2 separate regions of the Homo sapiens genome follow, and region 1 is linked to region 2. The links are contacts of gene promoters, found by promoter capture Hi-C in human tissues and cell types (Jung and others, 2019). All regions are on one chromosome and are shown on one strand. The core of a region is centred on a gene start or on the middle of the fragment in contact, and the rest is flanking DNA. Distances in the headings are between cores, read along the strand shown.

Region 1 (6,310 bases), core at 3,585-6,084, 48 kb after region 2:
TGAGTGGATGAATAGATATGTAATAAGGTAAATATAGTAAAATGTTAACTGTAGAATCTAGTTATACAAGTGTTCATTGTAAAATACTCTCAACTTTTCTCTCTGCTTGACCATGTATAATAATAAAATGTTTGGATAAAAAGGGCAAATAGCAGTATCTAAAAAGTACAGCAAACTGAGACAAATTATCCAAAATATGTAGGGAATGGTGGATAAAATCACATAGGAAGGAAGGATTCCAAGTGATTTTTAAGTGCGCTGTAATTTGACTCTACATTTTTAATAGGATATAGCTTATAAACAAAACTAACATGGAAAAAAATTCTTTTTTTTTTGAGACAGTGTCTCGCTCTGTCACCCAGGCTGGAGTGCAGTGGCATGATCTCAGCTCACTGCAATCTCCGCCTCCTGGGTTCAAGTGATTCTCCTGCCTCCGCCTCCTGAGTAGCTGGGATTACAGGTGGGTGCCACCACACCCAGCTAATTTTTGTATTTTCAGTAGAGACAGGGTTTTGCCATGTTGGCCAGCATGGTCTCGAACCCCTGACCTCAGGTGATCCGCCCATCTTGGCCTCCCACAGTGCTGGGATTACAGGTGTGAATCACCGCGCCTGGCCGAAAAAAATTCTTAAACTCTACTTAGCACCATTCTGGAGGTGTTTTGTTAATTTTGTTATTCAGAGACGGTTGTTGGTGTATTATATAATAGATCACATGAATAATTAAACTGGCATCACTTAGAAAAGGAATGTTTAGTTTGGGAGGAAAAATATGTACGTAAGATTTTTTATGTTAAGTAAAAAAATCCAGTGTACCTGGGTTTGTAAGATTCATGTCATATTTTATCTTCAAAATATATACACAGTATCCATGTCATCTTCCTGGTTTTAATATTGTACTACAGCTATATAAGATGTCACTATTTGGGGAATTTGGATGAAAAGTACACAGGATCTTTTCTGAAATTTCTTGTGTCTATAGTTGTTTCAAAATATGCCTGAAATGTAAAAAAAAAAAAAAAATGAGCTAATAAAAATTCTAGTAGTACTTGAATAGGTTGCAGTAAACCAAACTGTGGGTCAAGGTGGGCTGAGTGATATCATGGGCTGAGAGGTCTCTTGAAGTTTCATGAGAAGATATGTAAATCATCAAATCATTTGCAACGAAGAATTTCTGGAGTCCAAGTCCTCTCTCCATGGATGCGACTGGAAGTAGTTTAGGAAAAATCTCAGAAGCCAAGAAAATAGTTTTCATACAGTGGTCAGAACACTGAGAATTACATTCCTCAGAAAATAGGCTATAGCTAAAAATATCTTTGTGATTGAATACATTCAAAAGAGTATATAACATGTAATTAGCAGAGATATTCCAATTGTTAAATGTTAAATTATAAATTAAAAAGAGAAATATCTAGAAACCTGACTTTTATAATTAAATGAAAAACGTGAGGAAAATCAAAGATGCAGGAACATGGAAATGGATTGATCGATTCAGTCAAGCCTTTGGTTTTTATGATTCTAGCATGAAAGCATCTTGTGTGTCTTTCATGTCACTACAATGCCTTCATTTAACTATGATTACCAAAAAACAAGTACAGTAGCAACTTCTGCAGTACAAACTGATGGAAAGGACTGCTGAGGAGACAGAGAAGCCCAAGGAAGTAGTACCACCTAGGGGCTGAATTTGTTTCTAACAAGAAATCAGCTTTTCATTAGGTAACCAGATCACTAGATCCTATTCTACCTGGCCATTAGCAAGCTGATAAGAGATTTTAGACTACAAGAGATGACCCTGGAAAAGACAGGGGAAATTTCTATGGAGCCCATTCCTTAATAAGTTGTGATTGGATATTTGAGACCCTTCAGCAGAAATGGCTTAGCATTTGTCCATATTATCATATTATAATTTTTAAAAAATACACTCAGAATAACATTCTTTTTCCATATCATCCTGTGAATGAAGAAGAGACTAAGGAATTCATTACCCATTGTGTAGGTGAGGAAACAAGGCATTGAGTCGTAAAATACTGAATCTGGGCCTCACAGAACAGGAAGTGGGTCCAGGGATTGAGTCCCATATCTCTCAGTCAGAGAATTTCAGACATACAATAGACATTAGGGATAATTGAGGCCCTGGTTCCCGGCTCAGGGCGCAGGTCTACATCAAAATCACCTGAAGATTTCTTTCTTTTTTTTTTTTTTTTTTTTTTTGAGATGGAGTTTCACTCTTGTTGCCCAGGCTGGAGTGCAATGAAATGGCACGATCTCGGCTCACCACAACCTCCACCTCCCGGGTTCAAGCGATTCTCCTGCCTCAGCCTCCCGAGTAGCTGGGATTACAGGCATGTGCCACCACGCCCGGCTAATTATGTATTTTTAGTAGAGACGGGGTTTCTCCATGTTAGTCAGGCTGGTCTCGAACTCCCAACCTCAGGTGATCCGCCCGTCTTGTCCTCCCAAAATGCTGGGATTACAGGCGTGAGCCACTGTGCCCAGGCTGAAGATTTCTTTTTAATACTGAGCCAGAGGCCTGTACCTAAGTATATGTTCAATTGTTCTGGAATGGGCATAGTTAGCATTATTTTTGAGATTTACCTGGCTGATTCTAATGTGCAGTGAGGGTTGAGATCTGCCAACCTATTCCAAATGACTTCTCAGCTGAGGAAATTGAGATTCATAGAGGTGAAGCAGTTTATCATAACTGGTCAGTCCCTTGCAGAGCCCAGCTTAGACTCCTGGGAATGAACTCACAACCTAGTGCTGAAATTTCATTTTCTAAATGTTTGATCCTCTCTGGTTCCCATTTTCTTTTTTATCTGTAAACACACACACACACGCGCGCGATTGGCTTTTCTTTCCTTAATGCTGTTCTATCCTGTGTCCCTCATGGGTTTGTTTAGCCCAAAGAGACACTAAGCAAGATTCTGAATACCTAATCAGCCTGGGCCATAGCCCCGTAGAACCAAGACTGCTGCCAAATTCACAGCAATGGCAAGATAAACTTTTTGTTCATATCTCTGCATGCTATCTAGTGCATTGGCAAATTGAAAACCCATTTTTTCCCATAAGAATTCCAAAGACATCTTGCTCCCCAAAAGATGTTTTCTAATTCATCTGTTTCAGCATTTGCTTATGGCCTGATCATGTATCTGAGTGCAAGACAAAACCTGTCCTATTAATTCAGAAATTCTTATTTGTGTAGAACTTTCTAACTAGTTGTTGAACTCTCTGTGGAAGCTTACAGAATTGGTGAGAGCTGACATGGGAGATGAGTCTGGCAGGGAGTTGAGCAGAAACTGTTTAGATCTGGCAGTGTGCCCAGTTAAGTGTTTCCAAAAGGAAAATACTCTTGCACCTGCTCCTCTTCTGCTTCTTATGTTAAAAGACAAAGTAGGTAGGTTTTTTTAAAGGAAACATTGTTTTTATATATTGTTATGATTATTTGAGACAGGGGCTCACTCTGTTGCCCAGGCTGGAGTGCAGTGGTGTGACCATGGCTCACTGCAGCCTCTACCTCCTGGGCTCAAGTGAGCCTCCCACCTCAGCCTCCTGAGTAGCTGAGACCACAGACACACACCACCACACCCAGCTTTTTTTTTCAGTTTTTTTGTAGAGTTGGGGTCTCCCTATGTTGTCCAGGCTGGTCTACAATTCCTGGGCTCAAGTGATCCTCCCGCCTTGCCTTCCAAAATACTGGGACTTACAGGCCTGAGCCAATGCACCCGGACAACAATTTTTTATTTTTTATTTATTTATTTTTTTAGACGGAGTCTCGCTCTGTCACCAGACTGGAGTACAGTGGTGTGATCTCGGCTCACTGCAACCTCTGCCTCCCAGGTTCAAGCAATTCCCCTGCCTCAGCCTCTCGAGTAGGTGGGACTACAGGTGCACACCACCACACCCAGCTAATTTTTTGTATTTTAGTAGAGAGGGGGTTTCACCATGTTGGCCACGATGGTCTCCATCTCCTGACCTTGTCATCCGCCCACCTTGGCCTCCCAAAGTGCTGGGACTACAGGCATGAGCCACCGCACCCAGCCAAGAATCATTATTTTTAACTTGATGACTGAAAATAATAATAATAATAGTTACCACTTATTTGCATGCTTCTATGTGCCAGGTAGTTGCTAACTATTTAAACTCAAATTCCATGAACTGTAGTGGAGGTTGTACTGGAATTTGATTCAGAATGACAGTGTCCATGATGGAGCAATAGAGGGCTCTCTATTTCAAACCATACCTCCTTGCTTTTACCTCCTGCCTAAGTCATCAGGGGTTAGAAGGCTTTCTAGGTATTGGTCTCTTTCCTTCATTCCTAAACCAGATTGGTTGCTTATTTCCGTCAAGCTGAAACCAAAAGTAAGCAACCAAAAAGCAACCAGCAACCAAAAGCCTTGTTACTCAATTAATTAAGAGTAGATTTTTATATTTGATAGTAGGTTCCTTCTAAATATAGAAACTGAAAATAGAGCTATCTCCTTCAATTCTCCTTTTTCTGTGTATTCATCCAGAATCCAGCCACCAACTGCCACAATAGGCAGCAATGGACTGATGTTCTTTAGGGAGGACGTGAATCTCGTTCCAAATGCTGGCCAGTCATTGGGTTTCTGCAGCACTAGAAACATCTATGGTTGCAGGTCTGCAGTTTATCTGTTTTAAAATAGAAACAAAGTTTCATTCCCCACCCCCCCCCGTCAGCAGGAATTCCGCTAGCTTTAGTTTCACTTTCCCCTTTCGGTTTCCCTAGGTTTCCAACTTGCAAGGACACACCCACAGCTTACACCATTGGCTGCTGTTTAGCTCCCTTATATAACACTGTCTTGGGGTTTAAACGTAACTGAAAATCCACAAGACAGAATAGCCAGATCTCAGAGGAGCCTGGCTAAGCAAAACCCTGCAGAACGGCTGCCTAATTTACAGCAACCATGAGGTAAGGATTTCTTTGCTCCTCTGCCATAATGTCTAAAGTTTTTGAAAAAATGGTAATTAAATACTATTTCAACAGGTTAGATCTCAGTGAGGTCAGGTTTTCTAATTCCTCGATTTGAGTATCTGCTTATGGACTGAATGTGTGCATGCATGTGTGTGCACGTTCACACATACATAAATTGTTTAATGCATTTTTATGTTTGTTAGCATGAACTTGAGGAAGCTTACCTCATGCTATAGCCCAAAGAAGGGGAGGGAAATGGGAAAAGAGTTTTGCAGGAAGGGAGAAAATGATCCCAATCTGAGAGATTCTTTCCCATCAGATTCACTTCTGTCTGATATGGGGAAGGAATGGACAGCTTGTCTGAGTAGAGGCATTGCTTTCTGCAGGTTCTTTACCACAGAGAAAAAGCAGGACCCACAAGAATGTGAAAGCCTCAGTCTTGCAGCCTCTCTGATGTCTTGTGGGTAATACAGTGGAGATGTGGTAGGAAAAGCTCACAGCCTTCCTCCATAGGCTTCTGGTCTCACTTTCTGCACTGCTGGCCTCTTACAACAGGTTTTCGCAATCAGGCTGAGCTTAAGATAAACAGATTGCCTCCTCCCTGGAAAATCTAGGCTCTTGGTACGTCCTTGACTGAAGATGATCCACATCTGCTTGGGAAGATCCGTATCTTCCTTACCTAAAGGGCCTAATGTGGGAATTTCTCAGCTGATTTAAAAACCATTACTTAGGCCGGGCAAGGGGGCTCATGCTTGTAATCCCAGCACTTTGGGAGGCCAAGGTGAGCAGATCGCCTGAGGTCAGGAGTTGGAGCCCATCCTGGCCAACATGGTGAAACCCCATCTCTACTAAAAATACAAAAATTTGGGCATGGTGGCACATGCCTGTAGTCCCAGCTACTTGGGAGGCTGAGGCAGGAGAATCACTTGAACCTGGGAGGCGTAAGTTGCAGTGAGCTGAGATTGTACCACTGCACTCCAGCCTGGGCAACAGAGCGAGACTCCGTCTCAAAAACAAACAAACAAACAAAAAATCCATTACTTAATACTGATTTGTAAATTTTCCCCTCAGTGCTCCAGTTGGCAAAATTTTGAAGAGGTAAAAATTCCAGAAAATGCACATTACAGGCCTATGATGAACCCTCCTCTGTAAACAGATGGAGTTGGTACTGATAATTAAAATAATAATAATATTAAATGTTATAAAGGTAGTTATCACTTCTTGAATTCGTATTAAGTGACAGCCTGGCTTCTAAAAGTGTTATGTAAATTATTCCATTTAATTCTCAAAAGATACTTATAAGGCAGGTACTTACACAGTCATGCATCGTGTAACAATGGGGATACACTCTGAGAAATGCAGCTGTTAGGCAATTTCA
Region 2 (6,974 bases), core at 1,774-4,273:
ACATCAGTGTGAGGCTGGTCAAAAGGGCAGAGATCCATCCAGGTCTACAGCAGTCCCTTTCAAACTGCCAGCATCTGACACGGTGAGCTCCATTTTGTTCAGGTTAAAGTCAGACCTGGACAGCAAAGGTCTCTTAAACACATGGGGGAATAGCCTCCATGGACTCTTGAGATTAACTTCTGCAGTTCATTTTTAATTCACTCATGAATGTAATATCTAGTCACAAAGGTGTAAACAGAAAGGTAAAAGTATATAAATGTATAAGATGATCATTTGAACACTTTCCTTTTAAATTCCTTATCCCCTAGGAATTAATGTAATATTTGAAATAAATTCTGAAATGATTCCCTAGCTGATTTAACACCTGGAAACTTGCTTGTAGGTTCATAAGTGGCAGAAAGACTGTGGCCCTAAAGGAGTTCATCTCTCAGAATTTAGAATATAGACCCTACACCAGGAACCCATAAAGAGTTGCCCTCTGGTATTCACAGACATAGTATATGCACCTTGGACCATTTCCAAACTCAAAGATCCAGACCTGCTAGGGATTTTGGGTTTTGCCAAGGCATTATACCGTATTAAGAGGCTAACATAGTACATCATGGTGACTATAGTTAATAATGATATGTTGCATACGTGAAAATTGCTGAGAGAGTAGATTTTGTGTTCTCACTACAAAAAGAAAGGTAAGTAGCTGAGGTAATGCATATGTTAAATAATTTGATTTAGCCGTTCCACAATGTATACATATATTAAAACATGCTATACACCATAAATATATACAATTTTTACATGTCAACTAAATTTTTACTTTGTATTAAAAAAGGCTAATGGGGGGTAACTGCAGCTAATGAATAAACATCCAATAGGTCCAGCATTCCCATGTCAAGTGTCCTCTGCCTGTCATCCTTTATACAATAATTCTAATGAAATGCTAGATGGAATGGGACATACCACTCAAGAATACCACAGATGATCACCCTTAAGATATTATAAGATGGGCAGAGAGCACAGACTTCCACTCTTAACTCTTGCCTGGCTGATCACAAATCATATCCCAGCCCAGGTCCAGGGACCTACTTGCTTCCTTACAAACGAGGAGACCCTGGTTCTAAGACTTTTGCTGAGAGCAGAAATAACCTCCCCCATCCTCCTGCTCCTTAAACAAAAGAACCTTTAGGGCAATTGTCTAAAAGGAAACAACATACCAGAAATACAATTCCTGGGTTAAAGCAAGCAAAGCTGCTTTTCTAATAACTCCCATTTTCTATGCATACCCTGGGTCCAGCATTCCATCTTCCAGGTATGGTTAGAAAAGAGATCAGACCTTAGTGACTGCTGGTGAAGTGAATTGCATGCTGCAGCCCCTCATCAGCATCTTTGTACAGCTCAGTTTCGTGTTTTCTGCAGAATCAGGAGCTGACAATCAAAATGGCCCCTCACTCACATTCATTGGTCAGACTGGGCTTGTGATAACAATTTAGACTAATCACTGACAAGCAGGGATGGGGAGCACTGAAGTCAGCTATTGGCTGTGTCCCGGAGCAGTTGGGCATTCTGCCACTGGATGCTGCTTTTGTAATCTTGTCATATGACAAAGCATTATGATGTTCTTTTGTTTTCCTTGGATTGGCTTAAGGGCTGGTGAGAAGCAGGAAATATTCTGCCATGGGAAGTCTACTGACCTGCAAAAATTTATCAAAATACACAGAAGCAGGAATGGAAGGTGGAAAAATTACAAACTGTGATAATCAGCTCCAAGAGCATGTAGGGGTAAAAGGAGGTAGGTAATACCTCTCCTTACTCATTGTAAGAGTCATGGCTGACACTCCTATAACAAAAGACAAGTTAACAAGAGAAAAGCATAACAAATTTACTTAATCAAAGTTTTATGTGATATGAGAGCCTTCAGAAATGAAGACCCAAAGATCCAGGGAAAACTGTTTTTGTGCTTAGGTTCCATGAAGAATGGGCAGCTCTGTAGAGATGTGTTTGGACAAGAGTATGATCTAATGGTAATAGACTGGGTTCAAATTCTTCTTGGACTCTCTGTGTAGCATTTCTTCTTTGCAAGTATGGGGCAGGATTCCTCTGGATTAAGGGTCTTCAAATGAGAAGGGAGAAGGGAGAGAGTGACCTTCCTAAGTTTTATGGCTTGCTTTGGGGAAAGGGCTTCTAGTTTCTATCATTGTCTTGCGGAAGAGGAATTCTAGTTTCCATGGTTCACTCCAGGGGAGAAAGAAGCATGAAAGACAAGAGGGCAGGAGAAGGTCAAAGAGATCTTTCTTCGGAGGCCCTTCCAATGTCTTTCAGTTCAAAGTACTCAGCACACCGAGGCGCTATACTTTGGGCATCATGTTCTGAGAGCCAACAGCTACAGTGAAGAAGTATGAGAGCAGTCACTGAGTAGGGAGGGAGCTTTCAACTAACTTAGAGGAGCAGGGCCTGACCCTAGCAAGCATTCCTGGGGCCTCCCGATTGCCATATGGGGCAGTACTTATGTGTGGGACAGTGATATGAGGAGCTACACTCAGGAAGCTTCCTGATCTCAATTTTTATTATGATTTGTTTCTGATTTGGGATCTTCCTAACTGAATTAAAGAACTTATATTAATTTCTAGCTTAATTCAGGCAGGAGTTAGTCCAAGTATCATTCGACAAACTTTATTAATCTTTTAAAAGTGCCTTGGCTTTGGGTTTAGACCTATTTCAACCTCACCTCCACCACTTAGTATCTCTACAGTGTTGGGAAAAATCACCTAACCTCTGTGACCCTAAGATATTCCTACATAAAACCTGGGAATAATAAATTATACCTCACAGAAGATTAAATGTGTTTCCTTACAAGCATTATGGTAGACCAGATATACACAGAACAAAAAGCCTGTGTATCACAATGAAAAATGCTATATAATCTGCAAAACATATTTTTTAAATGCACAGCTGCATTTATAAGAGAGTAAGGAATTCCCTGAAGTCCAGAAATGACAGGAAAGTGAAAATCCACCAGAATAAGCATGTGTTCATTTGTGTTGGTGATCTACATCACTTTCTCATGGACTACATTACATTATGAAGGAGATGGAAGACAAAGTCTGGGGCCTGCACGTGGTACATTGTATCATAGAACTCACATAAAACCAGGACCCATTCAGAGGTTAAACTGGAGAACAAACTCCTTGCAGACGTAAATGATGGGGCTACACATGCCTGTTTTTGGCTTTGGCCCTAAGTAAAGCAGGGAGGAAAAAAAGTCATTGATAATTTCTAATCTTAAGTGGAGAAGCATGATTGTTTTGGGCTGAAATTCTCACTATCCATGCGGCAAGAAAAAAAAAAAAAAACCTCAAGTAGAAAATTTCATTTTAAGCAATTCTGGCTTGGTAGTGCTCCCATGCACCTAACAAAAGCAAATAAAAACACCCCTCAAAGGGAAACACTTTTTACATAGTTCTCAAAGAATTTCCAAGTTTGATAAAGTTCCAAGGAATATCAGGTCATAATACAAAATCAAAGAATACACACAAATAAATAAGCCACAATGTGCAAAAGTTGCCAGATAATAAACGATAAGCCAGAGCAACAAAACTGCAGATATTGTAATTGAATAGAGAATAAAAAAGAATGTATTTAGTACACTTTGGGAGGCCGAGGCAGGTGTATCACTGAGGACAGGAGTTAGAGACCAGCCTGGCCAACATGGTAGAACCCGGTTTCTACTAAAAATACAAAAATTAGCAAGGCATAGTGGCGGGCATCTGTAATCCCAGCCACTTGGGAGTCTAAGGCAGGAGAATGGCTTAAACCTGGCAGGTAGAGGTTGCAGTGAGCCGAGATCGCACCACTGCACTCCAGCCTGGGCAACAGAGTAACTCTGTCTCAATAAAAAAAAAAAGAATGTATTAGTGTATTTAGTAAATTTCAAGATAAAGAAAGAAAAAATTAAGTTTTAACAAAGGAATAGGCCGGGCGCAGTGCCTCATGCCTGTAATCCCAGCACTTTGGGAGGCTGAGGTGAGCAGATTGCCTGAGGTCAGGAGTTCAAGACCAGCCTGGCCAACATGGTGAAAACCCATCTCCACTAAAAATACAAAAATTAGCCAGGTGTGGTGATGGGTGCCTGTAATCTCAGCTACTCAGGAGGCTGAGGCAGGAGAATCTCTTGAACCCAAGAGACAGAGGTTGCAGTGAGCTGAGATCATGCCACTACACTCTAGCCTGGGTGACAGGTCGAGACTCCATCTCAAAAAATAAATAAATAAATAAATAAATAAATAAATAAATAAAGGAACAATAGTGTATTAAATTTGATTAGGCATATTTGCACAAGAACCAAACAAAACTTAGAAATATAAAAACTAAAATAATAGAAATTAGAAACTCAAAGGATTTGTTGAAAAGTAATTTATACACAGCTGAAAAGCATTTATTGATTTAGAAGACAGATTCGAAGAAACTACTCAGAATGCAGCACAGAAAAACAGTGAGATGGAAAATCAACAGAGATATTCAGGGACATGGAGAACAAAGTGAGGAAGTTAAAATGCATGTGATCAGAGTTGCAGAAGAACAAATAAAAGGGAATGGAGGAAAGGCAATAGTTGAAGAGACAATGACCGAAATTTTCGGAATTAATGAAAAATGCTAATCCTCAAATACATGAATTTCACAAAAGATCACCCAAGCAGATGTCACCTAAAAACATAGTAGTATCTTTTAAGTGCCTTTGAGGCAGAAAGATTTTTAAAACGACAAAAAACAGAAGAAATATCTGTGAAGGAATTGGTATTAGGTTAAGCTCAGACTTCTCAATAGCAACCAAAACACAGTGGGAAATAGTTTCAAAATGCCAAGAGAAAATAATTGTCAGCCTATAATTTGACTTTTTAACCCTTTTTATTTGAAATGATTTTAGACTTAAAGTTGTAAAAATGGTGCCCAGAATTCCCATATACCCTTTACGCAGCTTCCCATCATGTTAACACCTTACATAAACATAGAATAATCTTTAAGACAGGAAACTAACAGTGACAACATATAATCAACTAATCTACAAGTCTTGTTCAAATTTTACCAGTTGTCCCACTAATATTCTTTTTCTAGTTCAACATCCAACCTGGGATCTTCCCCAAAATGACCTTTGTTCACAGTGTCATAATTCACCCTGCAACACAAGCTCTGCTCAACTAGAGTTTGATGAATAAAATGATTTTCTCTTTGCCATGGTCCCTTTATATGAATATCTCATAAAGCATAAAGGTCAGGGTGGTTCCTGTTAGAATATTCACTTCCCTTGATTTCCTGCCAAATATCATTTCACAACCCTCCTGAGCTCCCTCTTGATTATAAAGGGAAAGACATTGACTCCAGTCTGACGCAATAAACAGAAGAGTTTTTGATGACCCTGCACCTTCTTTTCTTCTGATTTATGTGGAACATACCAGCAACAAAATCCTGAACCAAGATCCACCAGGGGATGGACAGGTGTCCTAGGTATGCCCAAGAATGATGCAACATCCCCAGCCATGCGCATGATGGCTGAGGAATCTGGGGACAGCTATTGTGTGGAAAGAAAATCTTACAAAGGGAAATCCTCATAGGAAATTGCGTAGGTTGGAGAAAGAGCCACACTCAGTCAGGCTTAGCCTGTCTTTTCTCTCCTTTGGTCTCCCAGAGGGAGCTGTTATATTCTAATAGCCTGCTGCATTGTTTTTTTCTAAAGAGAATTCTAGGAAATTGACATCAGGGTCTCCAAGACTACCCCTAGATTTGATGATTCACTGGAAAGATGAGCAGGATTCAACATATGGTCATACTCACAGCTAAGCCTTATTATAACAAAAGTATACAGAGCAAAATTAGCACAGACAAAAAGTGCATGGGGCCAAGTCCAAAGAAAATCAGGTATAGGTTTCCAAGAGGGCCGGTAGAGTCATCAGGTTGTGCTTAATTCCTCCAGCATCAAATTGTGACAACACATGTGAAGCCAGTTAGACTGTGTGCCCAAGGGTTTTACTGGGGACTGATCATGTATGCACCCTCTGCCTAGCATGTACCAAAATTCCAGACTTCGAGAAGGAAAGCAAGTGTTAGCATAAACTCCATCATTTGCATAAACAGTCTTAGCATAGTAAGCCACCCATATCATTTATAGAATAGCTAGAAAACTTAAAAATCCAAGTTCCCTGATGTTAGCCAAGGGCCAACCTTGCAAGCAAGTCTTTCTAAAGATAACAGTTTCAAACTTGCCATGCTAACTCTGCATGGTCCATCCCCTTAGTCCTTAGCAAGGCAACTTTATAGTAAAATTATTATTTCTAGGATCTCTGTCAGTATTGATCTCAGTTTTTTCCAATACATTCAGTATTTATCCTCTTTTAAGGATCCTGAATTTAGCCAGCTTAAACAAATCTGATTAATTATAAAGGTCTATCTTAGAAGTCCAGAGAGCTTCCTCCGTACATGTCTATATTAAACTTTTAACCTGGTGGCACATCACAGCTGAGGCCAGGAAAGTAAAGTGGACCTGATCACCTTCCTGGGCTGAGACAGTGTCATGACAGTCAGGTACACACAGACACAAAGCACAATCCCAGAGGACATGCATGGCAGCCCAAGCGGGACATGCCTTAGGCAGTACAGGTTTACAACCCCCACCATGTGGCCTTCCATGGTGAGGCCTACCACCGTAAGGTTTCCATCCCAGTCCAAAAAATACACTGAAGTCCTTGCTTTCAGAGGAACTGCCTTCAAGCTATCAGTTCCAAACACAGGAGTGAGGAAGACATCTGAGGTTTTCTGGATGGAAAGTTCCAGAGTGGATCCCCACCTCCAACCCCAGTGCTGTCTGTTGTGCTCAGAGGCTCAGCAATCTGAATTCAAAGCATTAAGTAGGAGTTTGGAAAGACAGCGTGGGAAGATTTCCGTCAGACAGAAGGGAAATCTTCCAGGAACAGTTCTGAAAAACAAAAAGA

Evidence for each region. Contacts are between HindIII fragments. The study calls those that stand out against the background at their distance.
Region 1: a contact is called between the fragment with the promoter of IFIT1 here and a fragment that was not itself captured in region 2, in 1 of the 25 tissues and cell types used here (hippocampus).

The regions. Positions count from the first base shown.
Region 1 is chr10:89,387,789-89,394,098 of GRCh38, forward strand. IFIT1 (interferon induced protein with tetratricopeptide repeats 1) reads left to right here and starts at 4,835. Exons shown (of 2, transcript NM_001548.5): 1 at 4,835-4,929. The coding sequence starts at 4,925. It also overlaps a transcript of LIPA not described here. RefSeq lists a silencer at 3,670-3,831 and enhancers at 4,384-4,433, 4,664-4,713, 5,515-5,564. The HindIII fragment of the contact is 7,368 bases long and covers 1,050-6,310 here.
Region 2 is chr10:89,341,284-89,348,257 of GRCh38, forward strand. It overlaps a transcript of LIPA not described here. Among named protein-coding and RNA genes, the nearest start is that of IFIT3, 17 kb to the left of the region's middle. The HindIII fragment of the contact is 4,561 bases long and covers 744-5,304 here.